Regions from separate parts of the Homo sapiens genome. Here regions 1 and 3 are each linked to region 2. Evidence: promoter capture Hi-C in human tissues and cell types (Jung and others, 2019). All regions are on one chromosome and are shown on one strand. Each heading gives the region's core, a stretch centred on a gene start or on the middle of the fragment in contact. The rest is flanking DNA. Distances are from core to core; before and after follow the strand shown. Region 1 has its middle 71 kb from the start of MC4R. Region 2 holds the start of MC4R (melanocortin 4 receptor). Region 3 has its middle 90 kb from the start of MC4R.

Evidence for each region. Contacts are between HindIII fragments. The study calls those that stand out against the background at their distance.
Region 1: a fragment that was not itself captured here is called in contact with the fragment with the promoter of MC4R in region 2 in 2 of the 25 tissues and cell types used here (hippocampus and thymus).
Region 3: a contact is called between a fragment that was not itself captured here and the fragment with the promoter of MC4R in region 2, in 2 of the 25 tissues and cell types used here (bladder and thymus).

Annotation. Positions count from the first base shown.
Region 1 is chr18:60,441,532-60,446,562 of GRCh38, forward strand. No RefSeq gene overlaps it. Among named protein-coding and RNA genes, the nearest start is that of MC4R, 71 kb to the left of the region's middle. The HindIII fragment of the contact is 3,517 bases long and covers 1,763-5,031 here.
Region 2 is chr18:60,370,980-60,375,866 of GRCh38, forward strand. MC4R (melanocortin 4 receptor) reads right to left here and starts at 1,796. Exons shown (of 1, transcript NM_005912.3): 1 at 83-1,796. The coding sequence starts at 1,370. The coding sequence ends at 372. The HindIII fragment of the contact is 8,670 bases long and covers 928-4,887 here.
Region 3 is chr18:60,280,875-60,285,300 of GRCh38, forward strand. No RefSeq gene overlaps it. Among named protein-coding and RNA genes, the nearest start is that of MC4R, 90 kb to the right of the region's middle. The HindIII fragment of the contact is 3,254 bases long and covers 1,126-4,379 here.

The sequences.
Region 1 (5,031 bases), core at 2,271-4,770, 72 kb after region 2:
GTAATGGCATTGCTGGGTCAAATGGTATTTCTGCCTCTAGGTCTGTGAGAAATCATCACACAGTCTTCCACAGTGGTTGAAATAATTTACATTCCCACCAACAGTATAAAAATGTTCCTTTTTCTCCACATCCTCGCCACCATCTGTTGTTTCTTGACTTTTTAATAATTGCCATTCTGACTGGTGTGAGATGATACCTCATTATGGTTTTGATTTGCATTTCTCTAATGATCAGTGATGTTGAGCTTTTTTTCATATGTTTGTTGGCAACATGAATGTCTTCTTTGAGAAGTGTCTGTTCATGTCATTTGCCCACTTTTTATTGGGGTTGTTTGTTTTGTTCTTGTAAATTTGTTTAAGTTCCTTGTAGACACTGGATATTCAACCTTTGTCAGATGGATAGATTGCAAAAAAATTTTCCCCTTCTGTAGATTGTGTGTTTACTTTGATGATAGTTTCTTTTGCTGTGTAGAAGCTCTTTAGTTGAATTAGATCTCATTTGCCAATTTTTGCTTTCGTTGCTATTTCTTCTGGAGTTTTCATCACGAAATCTTCGCCCATGAATATGTCCTGAATGATATTGCCTATATTTTCTTCTAGGGTTTTTATAGTTTTAGGTTTTACATTTAAGTCATTAATCCAGCTGTATAAGCTGAAAGGAAGGAGTCCAATTTCAATTTTCTGCATATGGCTAGCCAGTTTTCCGAGCACCATTTATTAAATAGAGAATCCTTTCTCCATTGCTTGTTTTTTATCAGGTTTGTTGAAGATCAGATGATTGTAGGTGTGTGGTCTTATTTCTGAGTTCTCTATCCTGTTCATTGGTCTATGTGTCTGTTTTTGTACCAGTACCATGCTGTTTTGATTACTGCAGCCTTGTAGAATAGCTTGAAGTTGAAAGCATGATGCCTCCAGCTTGGTTCTTTTTGCCTAGGATTGTCTTGGCTATTTGGGCTCTTTTTTCGTTCTATGTGAATTTTAAAATAGCTTCTTCTAATTCTGTGAAGAATGTCAATGGTAGCTTAATGGGAATAGCAATAAATCTGTAAATTATTTTGGGCAGTATGGCCATTTACACGATACTGATTCTTCCTATCCATGAGCATGGAATGTTTCTTCATTTGTTTTTGTCCTCTATGATTTCCTTGAGAAGTGACTTGTAGTTCTCCTTGAAGAGGTCCTTCACTTACTTTGCTAGCTGTATTCCTAGCTATTTTATTCTCCTTGCAGCAATTGTGAATGAGAGTTCATTCATGATTTGGCTCTCTGCTTGTCTGTTGTTGGTATATAGAAATGCTTGTGATTTTGCACATTGATTTTGTATACTGAGACTTTGCTGAAGTTGCTTATCAACTTAAGAAGCTTTTGGTCTGAGATGGTGCGGTTTTCTAGATATAGGATCATGTCATCTGCAAACAAAGACAATTCAGCTTCCTCTTATCCTATTTGAATACCTTTATTTCTTTCTTTTGTCTACCTGCCTTGGCCCAAACTTCCAATACTGTGTTGAATAGGAGTGGTAAGAGAGGGCATCCTTGTCTTATGGGGAATGCTTCCAGATTTTGCCCATTCAGTATGATATTGGCTGTGGGTGTTTTTTTGTTTTTGTTTGTTTGTTTTGTTTGTTTGCTTGTTTTGTTTTTTGAGACGGAGTCTCGCTCTTGTTGCCCAGTCTGGAGTGCAATGCAACCTCCACTTCCTGGGTTCAAGCGATTTTTCTGCCTCAGCCTCCAGAGTAGCTGGGATTACAGATGCACGCCACCACGCCCTGCTAATTTTGTTTGTATTTTTAGTAGAGATGGTGTTTCGCCATGTTGGCCAGGCTGGTCTCAAACTCCTAACCTCAGGCAATCCACCCTCCTTGGCCTCCCAAAGTGCTGGGATTACAGGATTGAGCCACCACGCCCGGCCGTTTTTTTTTTTTTAAATTGTTTCTTCAATACCTAGTTTATAGTTAATTGTTTCTTCAATACCTAGTTTATTGTAGTTTTTATCAGGAAGGGATGTTGAATTTTATTGAAGGCCTTTTCTGCATCTATTGAGATAATCATGTGGCTTTTGTCTTTAGTTCTATGTATGTGGTGAATTACATTTGTTGATGTGTATATGTTGAACCGGTTTTGCATCCCAGGGCTGAAGACTACTTGATCCTGGTGGATAAGCTTTTTGATGTGCTGCTGAATTCAGTTTGCCAGTATTTTATTGAGAATTTTTGCATCAATGTTCATCTGGAATATTGGCCTGAAGTTTTCATTTTTGTTGTTGTATCTCTGCTAAGTTTTGGTATCAAAATGATGCTGGCTTCATAAAATGAGTTAGGGAAGAGTCCCTCCTTTTTAATTGTTTGGAATAGTTTGAGTAAAAATGGTTCCAGCTCTTTGTATCTCTGGTAGAATTCAGCTGTAAATCTGTCGGGTCCTGGGCTTTTTTTGGTTGGTAGGCTATTTATTACTGCCTCAATTTCAGAACTTGTTATTGTTCTATTCAGGGATTTAATTTATTCCTGGTTCAGTCTTGGGAGGGTGTATGTGTCCAGGAATTTATCAGTTTCTTCTAGATTTTCTCGTTTATGTACATAGAAGCATTTATAGTATTCTCTAATGGTCATTTGTATTTCTGTGGGGTCATTGGTGATATCCCCCTTATCATTTCTGATTGTGTCTATTTGGTTCTTCTCTTTTTTTCTGATTTATTAGTCTAGCTAGCAATCTATTTTATTTCATTTTTCAAAAAAGACAGCTGCTAGATTTGTTGATTTTTTGAAGACAAAATTTAAAAAATTTTGATGTTTTGGTCTCTACCTCCTTCAGCTCCTCTGTGATCTTGTTTTTTTTTTTTCTTGTCTTCTGCTAGCTTTGGGGCTTGTTTGCTCTTGGTTCTCTAGTTATTTTTGTTGTGATGTTAGGATGTCGAATTGAGATATTTCTAGCTTTTTAATGTGGGCATTTAGCGCTATAAATTTCCGTCTTAACACTGATTTAGCTGCATCCCAGGGAGTCAGGTATATTGTCTCTTTGTTCTCATCAGTTTCAAAGAACTTCTTGATTTCTGCCTTAATTTCATTATTTAACAAGGAGTCATTCAGGAGCAAGTTGTCCATTTTCCATGTAGTTGTGTGGTTTTGAGTGAGTTTGTTAATCTTGAGTTCTAATTTATTGCATTGTAGTCTGAGAGATTGTTATGATTTCAGTTCTTTTGCATTTGCTGAGGAGTGTTTTACTTCTAATTATGTGATCAGTTTTGGAGTAAGTGCCATGTGGCAATGAGAAGAATGTATATCCTGGGTGGAGAGTTCTGTAGATATCTTTCAGGTCTGTTTGATCCAGAGCTGAGTTCAGGTACTGAATATCTTTGTTAATTTTCTCTCTCAATGATCTGTCTAATATTGTCAGTGGGCCGTTAAAGAATTCCACTGTTACATGTAGGAGTCTAAGTCTCTTTGTAGGTGTCTAAGAACTTGCTTTATGAATCTAGGTGCTCCTTGTATTGGGTGCATATTTATCTAGGATAGTTAGCTCTTCTTGTTGATTTGAACCCTTTACCATTATGTAATGCCCTTCTTTGTCTTTTTTGATCTTTGTCGGTTTAAAGTCTGTTTTATGGGAAACTAGGATTATGACCCCTACTTTTTTCTGTTTTCCATTTGCTTGGTAAATTTTCCTCCATTCCTTTATTTTGAGCCTATGTGTGTCTTTTGATGTGAGATGGGTCTTCTGAAGACAGCATTCTAATGGGGCTTGACTCTTTATCCAGTTTGCCATTCTGTGTCTTTTAATCAGGGCATTTAGCCCATTTACATTTAAGGTTATTATTATGTAAGAATTTGATCCTGCCATCATTGTGCTAGCTGGTTAATTTTCAGACTTGTTTATGTGATTACTTCATAGTGTCATTGGTCTGTGTACTTTAGTGTGCTTTTGCAGTGGCTGGTAAGTGTTTTTACTTTCCATATTTTGTGGTTCTTTCAGGAGTTCTTACAAGGCAGGCCTGGTGGTGACATATTCCCTTGGCATTTGTTTATCTGAAAAGGATCTCATTTTTCCTTTGCTTATGAAGCTTAGTTTGGCCAGATATGAAATTCTGGGTTGGGATTTCTTTTTCTGAAGAATGTTGAATACCTAATCTCTTCTGGCTTATAGAGTTTCCACTGAGAGGTCTGCTGTTAGTCTGATGGACTTACCTTTGTAGGAGACCTGGCCTTTTTCTCTGGCTGCCCTTACATTTTTTCTTTCATTTCAACCTTGGAGAATCTGATGATTATATGTCTTGGGGTTGGTCTTCTCATGGAGTATCTTACTGGGGTTCTTTTTATTTCCTGAATTTGAATGTTGGCCTGTGTTGCTAAGTTGGGGTAGTTCTCCTGGATGATATCCTGAAGTATGTTTTCCAACTTGGTTTCATTCCCCCTGTGTTTTTCAGGTACTCCAATCAGTTATATGTTCAGTCTTTTTACATAATCCCATATTTCTCAGAGATTTTGTTCATTCCTCTTCATTCTTTTTTCTCTATTCTTGTCTGCCTGTCTTACTTCAGAAAGATAGTCTTCAGGCTCTGAGATTCTTTCCTCTGCTTGTTCTATTTGGCTATATTGATACTTGTAATTGCATTGTGAAGTTCTCGTGTTGTATTTTTCAGCTCTATCAGGTCAGTTATGTTTCTCTCTTAACTGGCTATTCTGGTTATCAGCTCCTGTAATGTTTTATCATGATTCTTAGCTTCTTTGCATTGGATTAGAACATGCTCCTTTAGTTCAGTGAATTTCATTATTACCCACCTTCGGAAGACTACTTCTGTCGATTTATCCATCTCAGCCTCAGCCCAGTTTTGTGCCCTTGCTGGAAAGATGTTGTGGTCATTTGGAGGAGAAGAGGCACTCCGGCTTTTTGAGTTTTCACTATTTTTGCATTGATTCTTTCTCATCTTTGTAGGCTTAGCTATCTTTGATCTTTGGGGTTGCTGACCTTTGAATGGGGTTTTTGTGGGGTCTTTTCAGTTGATGTTGTTGCTGCTTTCTGTTTTTTTATAATTATT
Region 2 (4,887 bases), core at 546-3,045:
ATTAGAATATGTTTAATGAGGCTCTGATTTCTATGTTACGAAAGCACGCAAAGTGTCCAATGCTTATGAATAACACGAAGGAGACATTGTTAAGCTTTTAATAAGGACTTTTCTTTTTGTAAATCCACAGTGCCTACAACCTATAACATAGATTCATATTTTATGGCCAAAAAAGTAGCATGACATTGGAAATAATACAGAGACTGGGCATTTTTTCTCATTAAAAATCATAGGCTTAAATTTACACAATGGATATTCTCAACCAGTACCCTACACGGAAGAGAAAGCTGTTGCAGAAGTACAATATTCAGGTAGGGTAAGAGTGAAAAAGTCTCTTATGCATGTTCCTATATTGCGTGCTCTGTCCCCATTTAATATCTGCTAGACAAGTCACAAAGGCCTCCCAGGGGATAGCAACAGATGATCTCTTTGAAGGTTTTCCTCAGTTCTTGACTCCGGAGTGCATAAATCAGAGGATCGATGATTGAATTACACATGATCAGTATGAGATACAAGTTAAAGTGAGACATGAAGCACACACAATATGGATTCTGAGGACAAGAGATGTAGAATATTAAGTGGAGGAAGAATGGGGCCCAGCAGACAACAAAGACGCCAATCAGGATGGTCAAGGTAATCGCTCCCTTCATATTGGCACCTTGGCGGATGGCACCAGTGCCGGGGAGGACAGCAATCCTCTTAATGTGAAGCCTGGCCATCAGGAACATGTGGACATAGAGAGAAGCCATGAGAGCCAGCATGGTGAAGAACATGGTGATGAGGCAGATGATGACAGCACTACTATCTGAGTAAATGATGAACAAAATGCCTGAAACCGTGCAAGCTGCCCAGATACAACTTATGATGATCCCAACCCGCTTAACTGTCATAATGTTATGGTACTGGAGAGCATAGAAGATAGTAAAGTACCTGTCCACTGCAATTGAAAGCAGGCTGCAAATGGATGCAAGCAAGGAGCTACAGATCACCGAGTCAATGACATTATCAATATTCACTGTGAAACTCTGTGCATCCGTATCTGTACTGTTTAATAGGGTGATGACAATGGTTTCTGATCCATTTGAAACGCTCACCAGCATATCAGCCACAGCCAAGCTGCAGATGAAAAAGTACATGGGTGAATGCAGATTCTTGTTCTTGGCTATTGCCACAATCACTAAGATATTCTCCAACAAGCTGATGACACCCAGAGTCACAAACACCTCAGGAGAGACAAAAAGTTGCTCGTAGCACCCTCCATCAGAGTAGCCTTTTCCAAGGGACTCACTGGCATTGCTGTGCAGTCTGTAACTGCTGCGGTTCCAGAGGTGCAGAGAAGTGTGCATCCCACGGTGGGTGGAGTTCACCATGCTGGCAGGAGAATTCCAGTGTCCCCCTGAATTGATTTAACCTCCTGGGTCAGGGAGTCGTCTCAGTTATTTCCTCCAAGTCTTTATCTGTCTGAAAGTTGTGAGGCTAAAATTGCCATGCCTGCTGTGAGTAAATGTCACAAGTCCAGAGCTTGACATGGAGTTTTTAGTCTCTTTTAGGTACGACTCTAATCATCATCACTTTAAAATCTTGGGCTTCAAAATATTCATTCTCAGTTGAAAGAGTCTGCTCTTTGCTTTCTTGTTCTCACTTCTGCTTTAACTTTAATCTTATGCATTCAAGTCTGTTCAAAATAATTTTCCTTGAAGCTGCCATGCCATTGGGAGACGAATCTGTGCGCACATGCTCACATCGGCTGCCTCTCGGAAGCTTCTGTTTCCAGCCTGAGCGTTGCTTTGAGTGTTAGGGGCTGTAGGCGCCAGCTGCTGATTTTTATGATGTGTGGAGAGAAAAAAAACATGTTCACGGTGGCTCCTCCTCTGCTTCCTTCTGACCAATCCCAATGCAATGGGAGTCTGTGAGACAGGATTATGTTTCAGAGACACAAATTGCAGGGTGACACAGATTCAGATGCAGAAGCTCCTGAAGTCTGAAGTCGAGAAGCAAGCCGGATAAGAGACTGAATTTCCCTTTTTAAGTTTTCAAGGGAAACAACTTGATCCCTAGAGGCCATTCTGTGATATCAAAACAAGCTATCTTCAGGCAGCCAGGTTCATTCTTATGTAAAAGACATCATGTGTGTGTGTAAAATGAAATGGAAAGTATACTGTCTTATGTTCCTGAAACAGATACTCTGCTTTTTGGCTAGGATACTGAATTTATTTACCTTCTTAATTTTTTGTTTTTATTAAGAACCCAGCCAGTAGTGGTTCAGTTAAAATACCTGAAAAACAGAGAGGATATTTAATGATACAGATAGACATGGTATGGCTGGAAGAACTATGTAGGTAGCTATAAATTATGAATGGGTTCAAAAGGGGTTGATTTTAATGCACTAATATCCCATATTTCTCTATTGAGGAGTTTGTGTTATAGCTGAAAAAAGGTGCTTTTTATTTACAATATTTTAAACTCATACGGCATTAATGTAACTATGCTTACACTGAACTCAGGAAAATAATAAGCTGCATTCTGTTTTTTTTTTTTAAGCAACTTTTTTTTAAACCTCCAGAGTTTAACGTATCGTAAGTTGAACCGACAAATACCTAGTAACTTTACTTATCAAGCCAAGACTGGTGATACTAGTTAGTTATTGAAGTTTCTGAATATTTTGCTTAAGGTGGTTTGAAAGATGGCAGCAAAGTTACTTTCCAAATTAACTGAACAACAGATTATACAAAATTTTGTATATTCTTTTCTTCTATGATTATTTTTGGTTTTAGTGCTCTATAGTTTGTAGCTGCTTATTTCAGGGTTAATTCTGAATCTCAGTTACTTAGGTTGGGAATGTATCCTCTTTCCTTTTGTGACAGAGACAATACTAAGTATTGTTCCTGAGCATTGAGATAAATTAACGTCTTCCATCCACCTTTGGAATTGGGTAGGACCTTATGACTAAATTCTAGCTAATGGCATGTTGACAGTGGGGCTCATCGCATTAGCTCTTTCATAATTTTACACAAGTTTTCTCTCCTGTCTTTGAAATCTCATGTTACAGGTGGCAGGACCATATCATGAAAGGAGCCTGTCTCTTGAATGATTGCACAGAGCAGAACTCACACCTCCAACTCCCTTCCCCTGTATTTCTGAATGCCTAATCATCTGTATATTGTAAAATGCTGGAATGGGCTTTCCTGAACATCATGAGCTGGAAATAATCTTACCTTCCTCTTGCCTTATTTTTTCTCTTTTTAAAAATTGACATATAATTCACATACCAAAAAAAATCACCTCTTTAGTAATTAAATGGATTTTTGGGGGAATATATTCACAGAGTTGTGCCATAATCATCACTTTCTATTTCTAAAACATTTTCATTATCCCATTAGCAGTTGCTCCCCATTTTACCCTTTCCTTATCCTCTAGGAACTGCTAATCTACTTTCTGTCTCTATCAATGTGCCTATTTTAGACATTTTATATGATTGAAATAATGCAATATGTGGCCTTTTGTGGCTCACTGTTTTCATGTAGCATAATATTTTCAAGGTTTGCTTACACTATAATGTGAATCAGAATTTGATTTTTAAAAAATTAAAACAGGATCTTGCTCTGTCACCCAGGCTGGAGTGCAGTGGCATGATCATGGCTCACTAGGTTCAAGTGATCCTCCTACTTCAGCCTCCTGAGTAGCTGGAACTAAATGTACCTCCACACCCAGCTAGCTTTTAAAAAATAATTTTGTAGAGATTGAATCTCATTATGTTGTCCAGGCTGGTCTCAAACTCTTGGGCTCAAACGATATTCCCATCTCGGTTTCTCCAAGTGCTGAGATTACAGGCATGAGCCACTGTGCCCAGTTTTGATTTGTTTTTATGGCTGAGTAATATTCCATTGTATGTATACATTTATATATATATATATTTTTTTTTTTTTTTTTTTTGAGACGGAGTCTCGCTCTGTCACCCAGGCTGGAGTGCAGTGGTGCAATCTCAGCTCACTGCAAGCTCCGCCTCCTGGGTTCACGCCATTCTCCTGCCTCAGCCTCCCAAGTAGCTGGGACTACAGGTGCCCGCCACCGCACCTTGCTAATTTTTTGTATTTTTAGTAGAGACGGGGTTTCACCGTGGTCTCGATCTCCTGACCTCATGATCCGCCCGCCTCGGCCTCCCAAAGTGCTGGGATTACAGGCATGAACCACTGCACCTGGCTGTATACATTATATTTTTAAATGTATTCATCAGTTGAGGAACATTTGGGTTATTTCCAGTTTTGGCTATCACGAATTATGCTGCTAGGAATATTTATGGACAAATTCTTATGTGACAGATGATTTCAATTCTTTTGGATACACAACCAGGAATGGAATTGCTGAATCATATGATAACTCTGTTTCTTGTTTTGAGGAACTGCCAAACTGTTTTCTGAAGTGGCTGCACCATTTGACATTTCCAGTTAGCAATGTATGAGGGTTCAAATCTCTTCACATTCTTGCTAGCACTTGCTATTGTCCATCTTTTTTATTTTAGCCATCATAAGGATATGAAGTGAACTCTCATTATACTTTTGATTTTCATTTCCCTAATGCCTAATGATACTGAAGATGATTTTACATCCTTACCAGTTACTTGTGTAATAATCTTTGGAGAAATGCCTATTCAAATCCTTTGCTCATTTTTAATTGGATTTTTTTAAATTATTGAGTTGTAGTGGCTCTTTACATATTCTGGGTACTTTTGCCATTTCAATTATTGATAGTGTTCTTGAAACCACAAACCTTTTAATTACGATGATGTTAAATTTATCAAATTTTTTTGGTTGCCTGAGCTTTTGGGATCATATTTAAAAAAGGATTGCCTAACCCATGGTTATTAAAGTTTACACTTATATTTTGATA
Region 3 (4,426 bases), core at 1,503-4,002, 89 kb before region 2:
TTATGATTTAATTTACTCTTCTTTATTTGGGTTTACTTTCCTTTTATTTTTTTCTGATTATAGGTTTTAGTCATATTCTTAAAATTTTTTCAAAATGAAAAAGACATTTTTTTCTAAAATATATGCCTTTGAGGGAATAAATCTCTCTCTAAACCCGGCTTCTTCTTTATCTCACAAGGTTTTACTTGTAGTATTTTAATTATTATTCTGTTGAAAATATCTTTTTCTCACTTATATTATGCTTTCTTTTACTCTTATTTATTATGTTTTTTGTTTGTTTGTTTTAGTTTGCGTTTGTTTGTTTGTTTTGAGACAGAGTCTTGCTCTGTCGCCCAGGCTGGAGTGCAGTGGCGTGACCTCAGCTCACTGCAACCTCTGCCTCCTGGATTCAAGCAATTCTCCTGCCTCAGCCTCCCAAGTATCTGGGATAACACGCATGTGCCACCACATTCAACTAATTTTTGTATTGTTAGTAGAGGCGAGGATTCTCCATTTTGGCCAGGCTGATCTCGAACTCCTGACCTCAGGTGATCCGCCTGCCTCAGCCTCCCAAAGTGCTGGAATTACAGGTGTGAGTCACTGTGCCTGGCCTATTATGTTTTTTATTTCCAAATACATAGGATTTCGCATTATCATTCTCCTTTGTTTATTATAGTTTTGGGACTTAATTCCAACCAGTGTTGTTGGTCTTTCTTTGTTGGATCTTGCTCTACGACCCAGCATATAGTCACTTTGTTCTAAATGTTTTATCTGCACCTGAAACATTGGGTTTTCTGCAGCTGTTAAGTACAGTAAGTAGTCCATACCTGATTATCAGGTCAAGCTTGTTAGTTATTCATATTTTCTACATCTTTACAGTATTTTGTGTTTTCTCAGTGATAAGTATACATTAAAATCTCATATTATTTCTTTATTTACTGCTCATTAAAATTTCTGTAATTTTGCTTTATGTACTTTAAAGTCTTTATTTTTTTTTTTTTTTTGAGACAGAGTTTCACTCTTGTCCCCCAGGCTGGAGTATAGTGATGCGATCTCGGCTCGGCACGGGGGTGCTTGAACTCACCGCCTCCTGAGTTCAAGCAATTCTCCCGCCTCAGCCTCCAGAGTAGCTGGGATTACAGGCGCCCACCACCACACCCGGCTAATTTTTGTATTTTTAGTAGAGACAGTGTTCGCCATGTTGAGCAGGCTGGTCTTGAACTCCTGACCTCAGGTGATCCACCGACCTCAGGTGATCCACCCACCTCGGCCTCCCAAAGTGCTGGGATTACAGGCGTGAGCCACCGTGCCCGGTCACTTTAAAGTCATTTTTAGGTGCATAAAAATTAGAATTTATATATTTTCCCGGTTAATTGAACCTATATCATTTTTAAGTGTTTATCTCCAATAGTACTGTTTGTTTAAAGCCACATTTGTCTGTTTACTAAGCTTCATCATTATTCCTTCAGGCATTTTATTTGGTATTCTCATGAAGTGTCTTTTTCTAGCTGTTTACATTCATTTCTTCTGTTTCACTTTATTTTAGATGTGTCTCTTGTAAACAGCATGTGTGTATGTGTGTGTGGAAAAATATTTTTATCTTTCAACTGCAACACTTAAGTCCATTCATATTCAATGTAATGCCATATGTGGGTTTCAATCTACCATTTTAATATTTTCTATTTGTTACTCTTGTACCGTGTACCATTTTCTCTTTTCTGGACATTTTTGGGTTTATTGAATATTTTTTAAAAATTTCACTTTTCCCCGTTACTTTAAAATATAATTTTTAAAACTATTCTTTTATTCTAAAGCTCTTATTTTGTTTTCTTTAATAATCATGGTCTAAGTTAATTGGTACTTTTGTCTTGATAGACAATGAAAAGACCCAACAACCTGTGAGTTCTATTTATTTTCTCCTATGTGCCATTGTTATTTTATAATGTTACACACATTTCAAATACTCTCAATAATTATTATGATAGCTTGAAACAGTTAGCGTTATTCTAGACTTACCCATGTGCTTCTCTTTTTCTTCTCTGCATTTGTTTTTGCATTCCTAACTTTCAATCTGGGATTACTTTCTTTCTGTCTGAGTTTCTAATTTGAGAAAATGTGTCTGTTTACTAAATTTGAATCCTCAGCATAATCCACTGAAAATATGTTTTGATTGTTTTGTGTTATCAATTGGAGTTAAGGTGGGGAAAAGTGGTCACTACCCTATCAAGCGGGAAGGCAATTCGAATGATTGATGTATGTAAATAAACTGTTTATGTTCAGCATGATCTTAAATGAAAGGCCGTGGGTACCTAGCTGGCATACTAAACATACTAACGTTTTGAGTTTTTATTCACCCCTCTAATCATTATTTTAGTTTTTAGTTTTTCACTTCTCTGCTGAATACTTCTGATTCAAGAGAGTTGCCTGTGAGTTCAAAATGGAAATAATGTTATTATTTTACAAAATTATTTACAAAAATACATGCAATCCTTTTATCAATACTTATATCAACAGAAGCCTCTTAGAGAAAACAATGCAGGAAACCATTGGTTTAAATAACAAAAAGTGACTCTTCATTCTGGTGAAATCCAAAGTCTGTCGAGGGAGTGGGAAGCATGTGCCCAGAAGAGCAAACAATCGATACTGGGTATATTGGGAGCTTTTTGATGGACAGCATTAAGACAATAAATAAAAATTAAAATAAAAGGGCAGCACGAGGGAGTTTTAAGAGCAACAAATCATAATTTTAATCAATAAAAATTGCTCTTGGGAACCTATCTGATTGCTTTTGAAAGTAATTATAGTGCTGCTTCAGCTTGTTCTATGAAATACCTTGGAGGGGTAGCATCTAAATAAACTACCATGATTGGGTTTTTACAAAGCATGCTTACATATAAATTATAAATGCAGTACCATTTGACTTTAAAGTTTTAGAAAAATCTTTCTTCCCACAACCAGCATGCAATCAGCCAATAAAAATGCAAACACACGTCCAGTTATTACAGCAAGTGTAAAAACCTCACTGTTTTTATATTGTAATAAGATCATATACTTGTTATACATTGAAGACTAAAAATGATTTCTAACAGTCATGGTTTATTTCCATAAGGATTTCATTTTATTAGGTATTTCCTAAAACAAAATTATGCCTTGCAATCTGTTTTGCTAGTTTTAAGAAAAATCATGTTTGAATGATTAAAGGAATGAATATTCTGCAAAGTGCATAAAGCTTGCCACTTTGAAGGCTGACTTGATTGATTGTATTTGCAGATGCAGGTTTCCAGAGCCAGACAATATTAGCTATGATGTTCCTTGCATTACCTTACCTAAGATTTTTTACCTTAACGTTTCCATAAATAAATGAACCTACCTTCACAAACCAAATAAAAGCCTCATACATTTGTCATTATTGGCAAAAATAAAGTTGTCATTTTGAATTTAGATACTATAATAGAGGGCGTAATTAATGTCATTCTTTGTGTAGTGCTAGTTCTCTTTTCAAGATAACACGTAGTCAAAGATTTCTATAGCAGCTAACTCTGGAGTCATTATCATTTTGATTTCTTTGTGGTGAGTAAGACTGATTACTTTTATCACCATTTTCAGGATATATTTATATCTTGTACACATCAGATCATCTGATGAAGGACATTCATATCAATGATAATACCTTGTTAATCAGAAGAAGCTAGAATCAATAAATTGAGACTTCCATGTATTTTTTAGAATAAGTAGACTTCTATTAGAATATGACTTTAGAAACTGAATACTAATAACAGAATGCCCAGTTCTTAAAGTCTACTTCAAGGGCACAGGCCTAAGAAGTTGATGTCTCTATCCCTTGAGGACTCAAAGGAAAAACAGCTATATTTTGTAAAGTTCATGTAACATGTCAGTTTTTCAGAAAAATAACCTGTTGCCAGTCAATTTTTTCATTGTATTTATTTAGACTGTAAGTCAGACAGTTCACTATCATGTTTTTTAAGACTGTAAAAGAAAACTGAGATAACATCATATCTCTAATGATTCTCCTATATTAGAAAAGTACATGTTTTTCAAAATCACTGTATTAGAAACCTTCAAATATATTTTTCTCTATTTATAAATTTTATCTACACAGGGAGAAAACTGAAATGGTAGTCAGAAGGATCATAATAGCCATCTGAATATATTTTCCTCACAGGCCCTTTTCGGCCACCATCCTGTCTGGGAAACTTCCAAGACCACAGTGTTTGTTGATTATTCTTTTAGAATATGTATCTTTTACTGTACATGTATCTCAGGTACAGAATCTGAGGATTTTTACCCATAATGCAATCATTTGCATTATGCAAATGATGATCAATGTACACTGAAATATGCTCTAACATTGTTCTTTAAATGGATTCACCTTATTTCTTTAGGCACTGGTTGGAGATTGCTAGGTTATGAATATTTTATGAATAAA